Linked DNA regions of Homo sapiens: region 1 is linked to region 2. Evidence: promoter capture Hi-C in human tissues and cell types (Jung and others, 2019). All regions are on one chromosome and are shown on one strand. Each heading gives the region's core, a stretch centred on a gene start or on the middle of the fragment in contact. The rest is flanking DNA. Distances are from core to core; before and after follow the strand shown.

Evidence for each region. The method cuts DNA at HindIII sites, captures the fragments that hold promoters and counts their contacts. A contact is called where the count stands out against the background at its distance.
Region 1: a contact is called between a fragment that was not itself captured here and the fragment with the promoter of ADAM12 in region 2, in 2 of the 25 tissues and cell types used here (bladder and dorsolateral prefrontal cortex).

Annotation. Positions count from the first base shown.
Region 1 is chr10:126,431,588-126,437,338 of GRCh38, forward strand. All of the region lies in intron 7 of C10orf90 (chromosome 10 open reading frame 90), which reads right to left. LOC728158 (a long non-coding RNA gene) reads left to right here. Exons shown (of 7, transcript NR_148989.1): 2 at 1,989-2,230; 3 at 3,475-3,539. Among named protein-coding and RNA genes, the nearest start is that of LINC00601, 13 kb to the left of the region's middle. The HindIII fragment of the contact is 3,343 bases long and covers 1-3,178 here.
Region 2 is chr10:126,385,210-126,390,466 of GRCh38, forward strand. It overlaps ADAM12 (ADAM metallopeptidase domain 12), which reads right to left and starts at 3,268. Exons shown (of 23, transcript NM_001288973.2): 1 at 2,849-3,268. The coding sequence starts at 2,936. The HindIII fragment of the contact is 8,947 bases long and covers 1-4,796 here.

The sequences.
Region 1 (5,751 bases), core at 257-2,756, 45 kb after region 2:
CTTAGGGAAAAGAAACCTTGTACAAAGAATTAGATTCAAGTCCAGCTCAGCAATCCTCATGGGCTACTCAAGATTAGGGTGAGGCCAGGGTAGACAGACGGTGTCCTGAGGAGATTAAAAACATTACCAATACCCTTTGTAAGATTTTGATCATCTTGGTTCAACTGTTTGTGGTCTACTCTGGGAAGTTAGATTTTCTTTTCTTTCTTTTTTTTTCAGTTTGTTTCTTTAGAGCACCTGATACCACAATTAAGCTTGGGTTTGATTCCCAAGAGGAAACAACAGCAAATGTGAGCTCTCTGACACCTCCACTCTTGTGTTTCCTCAACTCGGCTCAGCCTGCTGTGCCACACAGAACTTTTGATTCTGGGCCCAGCAGCCCATGTTAGGTGCAAAACAAGCAGGACTGTGTCCAAGGGGGCTTCCCCTGCTGGTGACCTCAACCCATACCCCCGGGGAAGTATTTGCAGGTTGATTGCTTCTGACTTTGAGTTTTCCTAATGGTTCCCAAGCTCATCTGATAAATAGCAGGGTCTTTCCTAGCCTGGAGGAAAGAGACATGAGGAAGTGGTTTGAAATAGAGCAAGTGCATTGCAAACAGCTCCCAACCTCACTTGAGTGAGAGGAACACAACTCACTGGAGCAGCTTTGGGCACTTTGAGAGAGAAAGTGGCTCGTGGTTGCAGAAATTGTGTTTTGGGAGCCCTGACCAAGAACTCCTCCATTTCCCATGAGACCAATCCAAAATTCATTTCTTAGATATGCCTTTCTCCTTCCTTCTACATTTAACGAGCAGTTATGTTGGTAGGGGATGCTCAGAAACAAAAATAACAGATAAGACCGTCCCTTCATGAGATTTCATTTATTTTGGGAGAAGCTGGACAAGTCAAAAACCAGCTAAAGTATCCGGCAAATGCTCTGGTGAAAATGAAATGCCACCATGTGTCAAAGGGGGAATGGAGAGGCAAGAAGTCCCCGCAGGGGAGGAGATATTTAAACCAAGACCCGAATGACCAAAGAGCCAACTGTGGGAGGATCTGGGAGAAGGGCACAGTGAGCTTCTGCAGTAAGAACTGAAAGTGGGTCATCGTGGCTGTGCGGGGAGGGAGGGTGCAGAGGCGAGAGCGAAGATTACTTTGGTTCTCCACCCAGGTGATGCCTTACAGCTGCCTGGGGATTTTGGCAAAGATTCCTGTGTGTTGGCATTGGAATCTCAACCAAAGTCTCCAGATGACTCCAACATGCCCTAGAATAGGAAACCACCCACGTTGGCCTTTGCAAACCTATTTAAGGAGCTTTGCAATCCTGTTAAGGAGTTGCCTTCAGAGTAAGAGAGTTGGAGAGCCATGTGGAGTTTTAAACATGAGATCTGATTTTTATTGCTAAAAGATGACCACAGTGGCTCTTCAGAACATGAACTGGGTGGAGGAGATGCAAAAATGGCAGCAGTGAGATAGGTCAGGCAATTGCAGCCAGGTGGGGAAAGATGGCAGCGTGCAGGTAGCCATGGGACTCTTCTACCCTGTACAGGTAGAAACTGAGTTGTAAGGGCCAGGAGAGATGAATCAAGGATGACTCCCAGGCTTTGGGTTTAAGCAAACCCATTCATTTGACAATTGTAAAGTTTTTATCTCCTTGGTGCTAAGCGATAGGGACATGAAGATAAATAAAACTAAGAGCTCAGAGCCCAGGATGAGAATGAGGTAAATAAGGCCTTTAGATGCCAAGAGCAAAGTCTGCACATGGTGAGGGGAGACATCAGGAGGGAGTGGTCAGGTCCACCAGGGAAGAAGGGCATCTGGGAAAACTCCATAACAGGAGACAGCTGAGCTGGGTCATGAAGTAGAGAGAGACATACCCCAATAGCCTGTGGTTGGTAGGGGTGGGTGAAACGGCAGCCCAGGGTCACATAGACCTGCCTGCAGCAAGAGATGAGTCATCCTTGATTCATCTCTCCTGGTCCCACAACTCAGTTTCTTCCTGTACAGGGTAGAAGACTCTCATGACTACCTGCACGCCACCATCTTCCCCGGCCTGGCGCAATTGCCTTCAGGATATGTACAGCATGACCCACAGGGATTTCACTTCATGGAATGCAAAACCAACCTGCATGAGCTTTGTTTGAAAACAAAACAAAACAAAACGAAAACAAAACAAAACAAAACAGAGAAATCCTATCTATAAAATTACTCTTAATGGAAATTCTGCCTGTATAAAATTAAAGTGGCAGGTGAGAACCATTTTCAGCTTGCTTATGGGTCTCTTACAGATTTTCCTTGAAGTTTCATGTGTTCTAATTCCCTGATATGGAGGGAAGAGACTACAGTTGTGTTTACCTCGAATTATCATTCAAATAGAGGTGGTGTTTTCCCCCAGTAAAATTACTAAGGTAAATTGCCTATTTCTATATTTCTGGAAAATACTTTTTTCCCCAAAAAGTCTTGCATCTGCCTCATTATTGGATCCAAACTACAGTGTCTATTGCTAATTTAACTTGGTAAGGCCAGACTTCCTCAAGCCCTTGCCTGTGTCAAAGTCAGCAAACAACCAGGTACCAAGATTTCAGTGCTTCTGAGAACTACTCAGGTAAGGTCAAAGCCCAGACATCCCATTAATCTCTATAAACACATGTGGGTGTTTATTGTAATCCTCATATCACCTCTGTGCACACACATACACAAGGACAAGTGGCCTCAATATTCAGACAGTTGACAGTGTCACCAGAAGGCAGCAAAGATCACCCTGCCACCAGCATGATTCGTTGTTTTTGGAGCTGGGCTGTTTTTCCTCCATGCAGAGCCCTTATCTACAGCTCTGATTGCAAACTTCATTTTCCCTACTGAAGAGGTAATCTAAATGATAATCAAGTTCACACGATTTATTAGGACAATGCTTTCCAGAAGCCTATTTTCTGAAGTCACCCCGAGCACTTTGAAGGATGTTTTAGACATTTGCTTCCCCTATCTTAGAAACACCAAAACCAAGAGATACCCGTTGGAGAGAATTCAGCAGGGAGTCAATAAGCCAGCCTGGAGTATAGACGTCAAGTCTCTACCTTCCTGAATCTCCTACTAAAGATTGGACCTTCACAAAGAATGGAAATGGGTTGTGTTTAAGGGAACCCCCAACATGTGTGAATTCTAAGATCACAAGGCTGTGCATTATGCAATTCCAAAGTCACTAGGTCTCTGCCGCCGGCCGTTAGAGTAATTCCATCACGGTTCTCAGGGTTTAAACTTGAACATTTCTGTTCAGCTCACCATGGTGGACCCTCTAATTTTCTTGATGTAGGCAATAGGAGAGTGGTCTATCTTGAACCAAATTAGCCCTCCAGAAATTAAACAGCACAGGTTACACCATATGAAGGTGAGTTAACGACTCATAGGTGGTTTGGCTCTGAAGTGCTCTCATGATAAAATCTTATGCTGGACTCTCATTTTCTAAACATTATCCTGTTTCTAAAATCACTTCTAGCCATCTGTGGAATCCCACTGCTGAATGACCGTTGCACATAGCAGCTTGTTTCAGAACCCTGTCAGGTAAGTGGAAGCCACACAGTTGTTGGTATTGATATGAAAGTGATGCCATGTGCCAATTACTGTCCAGACACATGAGAGAGTTGCTGATGTAACAATCTGGAAAGACAATAAGCTCTCAGACCTTTCTGGTGAAGGAATATAAAATTAAATAAAAAATAAGCCAGAGAGTCTCCAGAAAAATCTGTTTCCTTTTGCATACTCAGTTTGAGAAGCAAGGTGTATAGGGCTTCCTGGTTAAGGAAGGTAGATCATTCTCTTGCACACAGAGACTTACCCTTGAGCTTGAGCTCAGAGTCAGGTCACCATCTTGCAGCTTCCATGGAAAGATAGGGTGCTTTGGAGCTACTGGATGGATTTCATAAAGGGTCTGCACCCTTGGTGGGGAGGTGGTGAAGAGAACGCCCCACCATGAACACTGGCAGCCACAAGCCTCCCCAGATCTTCCAAGGAGAGACCCCTGATACAATATGGCAGATGAGGCACAGGACCAGAGCTTTGCTTCCCCAGCTGGAGGATCCCAGACCTCCAAGTCAACCATATCTATGAAAAACATTTTTGGAGAGAAATGGAGTCTTGATGTACTCCCTGAGCCCATGCTGCTCTATCTCTTGGATCCAAGAGCACTGTCCTCAGTCCCCTTCACTTCCTGACTCCCTAGGGGTCTTCTCCTTTATGATTCTAGACGTGGTTTACAGCTGTCTGCCTGGCCAACTCTCTCCCCAAGTGGCACATGAACTCCTGGAAGACAGGAAAGTCTCTTCTCAGCCCCTAATATCCCTGCCTTTTCCCACTTGCACTCCATCCCTATGGTCAAAAGAGACCCAGTGCTTAATATTTTTATTTCTTGGCTGGTTACTCCTCAAGAGATCCAGTAAGAGACAAAGGGTTCCCCATAAAACCTATAGGAACTGCTAAGGAAGGCTGGCACACATCACCTCCTAATTCAGGTTGCCCGTAGTGCCAAAGACCCACGGAACAACCAGCTCTACCTGTGCAAATTCAGTACCCCAATGTTGACAGGATCAGAGACTCTCAAACTAACCAGACTCTTACCCAAGACCAGAAACTTACAATATGAATCCCAGCGGAGGACTCCTGTCAGTTGCCCAAAACATGCATTTCCTCCTAGGGGAGCTCAGCAGTGGCTGACAAAGTGGTACAGACTATTTTCTGCAATGAGCACATTGTTGAATTTGAAGGCAAATCAGCTGAAAGATGGGCAGCTATACCCAGTCTCTAGGATTTAATGATTCAAATTCTTAATGACCTCACTAAACACAACAGGAAATTCAGTTTCTTTCTTTTTACAAAAAAAAATGAGCATTAGAAAATTAAACATCATACTTTTATGATGTATATATGATGATTTCTTTGGCTTGCCTGAGCCTCCATAAAATGATAAAGTCTTGTTACGTATAAGTCTAAAAACCTGGCAAGTCACCTTAGGCCTTTGCTTGGTGCTATGTGCTTTGGGACAAGCTACTTGTGCTAAGATTTGGTTCCTCTGCACCCATTGCGGGAGCAGAATCATTTTTTAAAAACTTTTCTTTTTTGAGCCAGGGTCTCACTCTGTTGCCCAGGGTGGAGTACAGTGGCACAATCATGGCTTACTGCAGCCTCGACCTCTCAGGCTCAAGTGATCCTCCCACTTCGGCCTCCCCTGAATAGCAGGGTTTTTGTTGTTTTTGTTGTTGTTATTTTTGTTTTGTTTTTTGTAGAGATGGGGGTGGTCTCACTTTGTTGCCCAAGATGGTCTTAAATTCCTGGCCTCAAGCTGTCCTCCCACCTCAGCCTTCCAAAATGCTGGTATTACAGGTATGAACCACTGTGTTGGGAATGGTCCATATGAAGGTGCTCTATTAACCATGAAGAAGCTAATGGCAATGCCAACGACCACTGTTTCCCCAGTGTTCCTCTCTACACAGGGCACCTATCCCCCAAATTCATGTTTCAATTCATCCTTACAGCAACCTACTCAAGCTAGTCTTCTCTCCTCTTTACAGGGGTTTTGTGTGTAGGTAAATTACCTCTAGTCTCAAAGTAAGTAGACAAGAGACCTGAGAGTTGAGTACTGATGGAACCAGTGGGATTTTTATTCTCTGCAAAAGATATAAGGTTGTGGTTCTCAAAGGAGGGATTGTATTTTCACATAAATGTCAACATCTGTGTGGCTTCCAGTTACCTTCCAGTCCCTGAACCAGCTGCATCAACA
Region 2 (5,257 bases), core at 2,018-4,517:
TTGCTCAGCAATCTGGAAATTCTACAAACCTTGTCCTTTGGGGGGTTTATGGAGGCCTAATTACACAGCCATGATTAATTACACCATTGGCGATCAAGTCAACCTTCAATCCGTCTCCCCTCCCTGGAGGTTGCAAGGGAGGTGGCACTAAAAGTCCCAACTCTAATCATGCCTTAACAAGCTCATTAGCATACAAAAGACACTCTTAATACCCCAGAGATTCCAAGGATTTTAGGAGTTCTGTGCCAGGAACCAGGGGCAGAGACATATTTCTTATTATATCACAATATCACAGCTTGGTGCACAGAAAATAAAGCAAACAAAAATCAAGACAAGGCAATCATTAACTCTAGGAAAAGCAAAAAGTTACAAGAGGGATGAAATGCCATAAAACACTGCACGGCAAAACAGTGAAAAGTATTTGCAAAGTCTTCTTAGTGCAAACATTGAATTTTTTTTTAATGATGGCACTACTATATTGGGTAGTTGAAAAGAAGAGAAGGCAGTGTGTCTGGAGTAGGGTGAGCAAAGGGAGAATGGTAAGAAAGGAGATCAGAAAGGAAAACAGGAATTAGGTCATGCTGAGGTTTGGATTTTCTTTCCTAAGGGTGCTAGAGAGCCACTGGGGAGTTTTAGACAGGAAACTTGAATGCTCTAACTCATGTTTGAAAATAATAACTTTGGCTCTATTGTGGAGGAAAATATACCATGCAGGGATAAGGTGAAAAGCCAGTAGGCCCGTTGGGTAAGAGGGATAAGAGGCTTCTGCAGAAGAGATTTTTCCTATAATGTGGCCTGGACTGGGAAAGGCACACTTCGGGATGTAAGGAAGTGGGTAGGTGGGAATATACTTAGGAGGTTGGTGGCTTACGGAGTAAAAAGAGGGACACAGGGATGACTTCCTGCATGTCAGCACAAGGCATGTGGAGAAGGCAGAGGAGGTTGTTACTGGGTTCAGGAAGGCTGGGGAGGGAATGATTTGCAACTAGAGAGTCTGGGATCTAGGGTTCTGTTTTGGACTTGTTAGGCCGAGTTGCCCCAGAAAGTACCAAGTAGGCAACTGTGCCAGGGCTCAGGGTACAGACAAGGCTAGGGAGAAACTCAGAATATGCTCAGACTCAACAGGTAGTAATTCCTCCTTTTCTCTTGCCAATGCAAAGAAATGTTTCATTATATGTTTGGCGTTTTATACGGCCTCAATGGTATGATTTGGGGCACTGATTGATTGAAGACTTGATACTGAGAATCTAAGGGTAAACAAGCAGTGAATCCTGGAATATATCACAATAGGTAACCCATTCAAAGTGCTTAGGCCTCCCTGGTTTTCTATTTTGGGTCATATCTGTCTTAAGGAAACACTCTCTCTACCAAAGCTGAACTCATAAAATAGTAAAAGTCCTCCCCCGCCCACACACACAAGAAATAATTTCCCATTATTAGCTGGATTTAATAAACATTTTCTTCCAAAAAAAAAATTTGTCCCTGCTCAGTAGACTTCTCTTTATGTGTACAAAGCACGTGCCAAGTTAAAGACCATGTCAGGCACACTTTGAGACACTTTCCGTTTTTTAAAAAGTTCTTTCTTAATAAACATTCAAAAGGACCAATTTGTTTAAAAGTCTTTCAAAGCACAATTCACTACAGGTCGTAGAGTTCTTTAAACCCTCAGCAGGATTCTTTCTTGACTTTCTCATTGCTTTGTGCAATCTTTGTATTTAATCATTTATCCCCGAATTGGTCTTCGCAGTGTGGCTTTTAACAAGAACTGGGTTTTAGCCACATTACAGTAGACGCGGTGGGGGCGGAGGGCAGCAGTGGCAATCGCAAAATAAAACGTATCATAAAGTGGTAACGGTTCGTGATTTAGGCCAGTTGTTGAAAAATAAATGCCTGTTATATAGAATCACAGAACTTGAGAGCTTGCGGCCAAGGGAAGTCGTTCATCGGTGGACCGACAGCGCCCCGGGCGGCAGAAAGAAGGCGGCGGCGGCGGAGACCCGGGGAAGTTGCCGGATTTTTAAAAAGGCACCTGCTGGGTGAGTCCTCACTGTGCAAACGGGAGCCACAGGTGCCCGATTTTAAGGGGCTACAACTCGGGAAAACCTAAGTCTGTAAAACTAAGTACGTTAAACTAAGTAAGTTCTCGCTGTGCACCAAGTTGATGGGGGCGATTATTTACGGCGGAGAAACTGAGTGGAGGAAGGAGGGAGAATTCCGCTAAAGTTTGCCTGCGACTGACAGCTAGGGAGTGACCTGGAAGCCAGGAAGAGGGGCAGAGAGGAAACTAAAGAAGTAGGTAAGAGAGTCAGTTTATGAAAATAGAGCCTGCTGTGGAGAGCAGCAGGCACACCTGCGGAGGAGGGGGCTGCCTCACCTGCGGGGCCGCTGCGCGCCCCCCTAAGTGTGTTAGCGGGGGAGGCGGGGCTGGAAAGGAAACCTGGTGAAGGGCTGGCCCGGAGCCTGGGGTGGGGATATTCACTGCGGGATAGGGCCAGCAAGAGGACCCGACACGCATCGTCCCGAGTGACACGTGTAAATGTCAAGATACAGAGACATCTGCAAATGTCACCCAAGAGGGTGAGGACGGGGGAGCGGTCCCGAGGCTGTGCCCTCCGGGGCAGGTACTGGCTCCTGTGGGGCTGCGGGCCAAGTGTCGCCCTTCCCCAAGGAATTGGCACCTGGGGGGGGGGGGTCGGTCTCGCCGCGCTGGAAGCGCAAGCCCCGGGGCTCCGGAGATGCGCCGGGGCGCGTCGCCCCTCGGGGCAGCCCTGGACCTCGGCGCGCCCAGGCGCAGCGTGCGGTGCCCTCGGCGGGGCGGGCAGCGAGCCGCCCTAGTTCGGCGACTTACCTCGGGCCTCGCAGGGCGCGAGCAGAGCACCGGCCAGGGCGAGCAGGAGGGCGCGGGCGGGGGACACGGGCAGCGGGCGCGCTGCCATCGTCGCCGGCCTTCAGTGCAGCAGCTCTCGGGCCCGGCGGCGAGCGCTGCACCATCCCACGCGGGCGCCGAGCCGGGGCCGGGCGTCGCGACCGGAGGGATTTCCTGCCTCGGCGAGTCAGCTCCGGAGCCCTCGCGCAGCGCCCGCGCCGCCGCTGAGCTCTTCTAGCCTTTCATTTTTAAAAAAGTTTCCCCCCGTGTGTGTGCGTGCGTGCGCGCGCGCGCGCCGTTCTGGCACAAGCCAGCCTTGACCGTTGCAATAAATGAGCAAACTGTCCGAGTTGGCCCGGGGACTAGGAAGAGCGTTAGTGAGAGAAGGCAGGCCTGTGAAATGGATCCACGGCCAGCAGTCACCGTTCTTATTACCGCGGAACAAATTATTGTCTCCCCCGCACCCCCGCCAGTTGGCGGCGTCCCGCGGGTCCTAGAGACCGCTCGGGTCCCCCCGCCAGGGTCCCGCCCCGAGCCGCGGCTCGCTCACCCCCGAGGGTGGGCGGCTCAGACGTGGCTCAGTGGCGTCCGGGCGCCCGGAGCGCACACGTCCCCGCCCCAGGATGATGTGGCCGCAGGGCCCGGGGCGCCCGGCTGCCAAGCGCACATGCGGCGGCACGGTCCAGCTTTTCAGGCTGAAGCTGGAAACGATGACTCTGCTACTCGCTCCCCGGCTCTCTGGGAACCCTCGGAGTGCGGGTCAGGTCTCCACCGCGGCCCACAGCCCGGCGCGCGACCCCGCCCGGCCCTAAGCGCCCAAAGGGGCATCTCTCGCCCGAGAAACAAGCTTGGACTCGCAGGCACAAGACACCTGGGCGTTACTTTTGATCAACAGTGTTAGGTTTTACGTTGATAGATTGGCTCACGTTTCCATTCCATGACCTGGACCCAGAAAAGGGTGTACAGTGACGTTCCCCAAACTTTCCTGATTGTAAGAAGCACCTGGGTTGGCTTGTTAAAAAGATTCCCGGGCGCCCTCCTACGCTTTCAGAATGAGACTCTCCAGGCTGTGAGGCCAGGGGAGCCCAGGGTGTTTGGAGAAACACCAATGAAAGAATGGTGCGCCTTGCCTTCTCATCCTTGTTCCGGGCTGACCCCACCTCTTCAGCCTCGCTCGGCCCTCAGGGAGACCATGAAAAGCAGCAGCGAGGGGGCCCGCACAGACAGAAATGGCTGGAGCTATGGAGGATGGCTGATGCCCACCCTGCGGGTTACCATGATTCCCAACCTTGGGGACTTATTAGAATAGTAAGAGTTAAAGACATTGCCAGCCCCAGACACCAGTTAACTCAGTTTCCCACAATGCGTGGAGCTCAATAGTTTTCAAAGCCTCAGGTGATTCTACTGTGCTGCTCAGACCTAGGACCACCTGCAGAAATTCCATCCTGGTCCTGCGACCTCGCACCGATTCCTGACGGAGCACCCACTCCTAGGAGGCGGTTATCCAGCATTTGAGGAAGCTGCCTTCCATACCATCTCTTCCCACTGCAGAGGAGTTTTCTCAGGAGTTCCCTCCCACGGCAGGTTTTGCAGTGTTCCCAAAACCCAGGTCGATCCTCCTAACAAGGTGCAGGACTTTCTTTTTAAAAAACCTTAGTGGGAAGCACAGGCTCTCCAGCCCCCTTCCCAATGCTGCCATATCTCAGTACCAGATCTGGAAACCAGGCCTGGTTCAAGCCCTGTGTCATATCTAACCGTACTACCAACCAGCGTTGCAGTGTACTTCTTTTGTTCATTCATTCAGTCAATCTACATGAGCAACCCTATGTTAGAACTTGGGAAACTAAACGAGAAAGCCTCTTGCCTTCAAAGACTTTTCTTTCTGATCAAACTGATAAATCATCATTATTGGACAGTGTGAGCTAGTTACTTAACCTAGTTAATAATGATTAGGCTTGTTTACTGATATGGTTTGGCTGTGTCCCCACCCAAATCTCATCTTGAATTCCCATGTGTTGTGGGAGGGACCTGGTGGGAGGTAATTGAATCATGGGGGCAGGTCTTTCCTGTGCTGTTCTCATGGTAGTGGATAAGTCTCAAAAGATCTGATGGTTTTAAAAAGAGGAGTTCCCCTCCACAAGCTCTCTCTCACTTTCTGCCTGCTACCATCCATGTAAGACATGACTTGCCCCTTCATGTCTTCTGCCCTAGCCATGTGGAAATGTAGGTCCATTAAACGTTTTTCCTGTATAATTTTACCCAGTCTTGTGTATGTCTTTATCAGCAGCACGAAAACAGACTATTTACTACTTCATAATTCATTACATACCTCGTATAATCGGAGTATTGTGCTAACGTCTTTCACCTGCATTATTTCATTTTTTAAGTCCT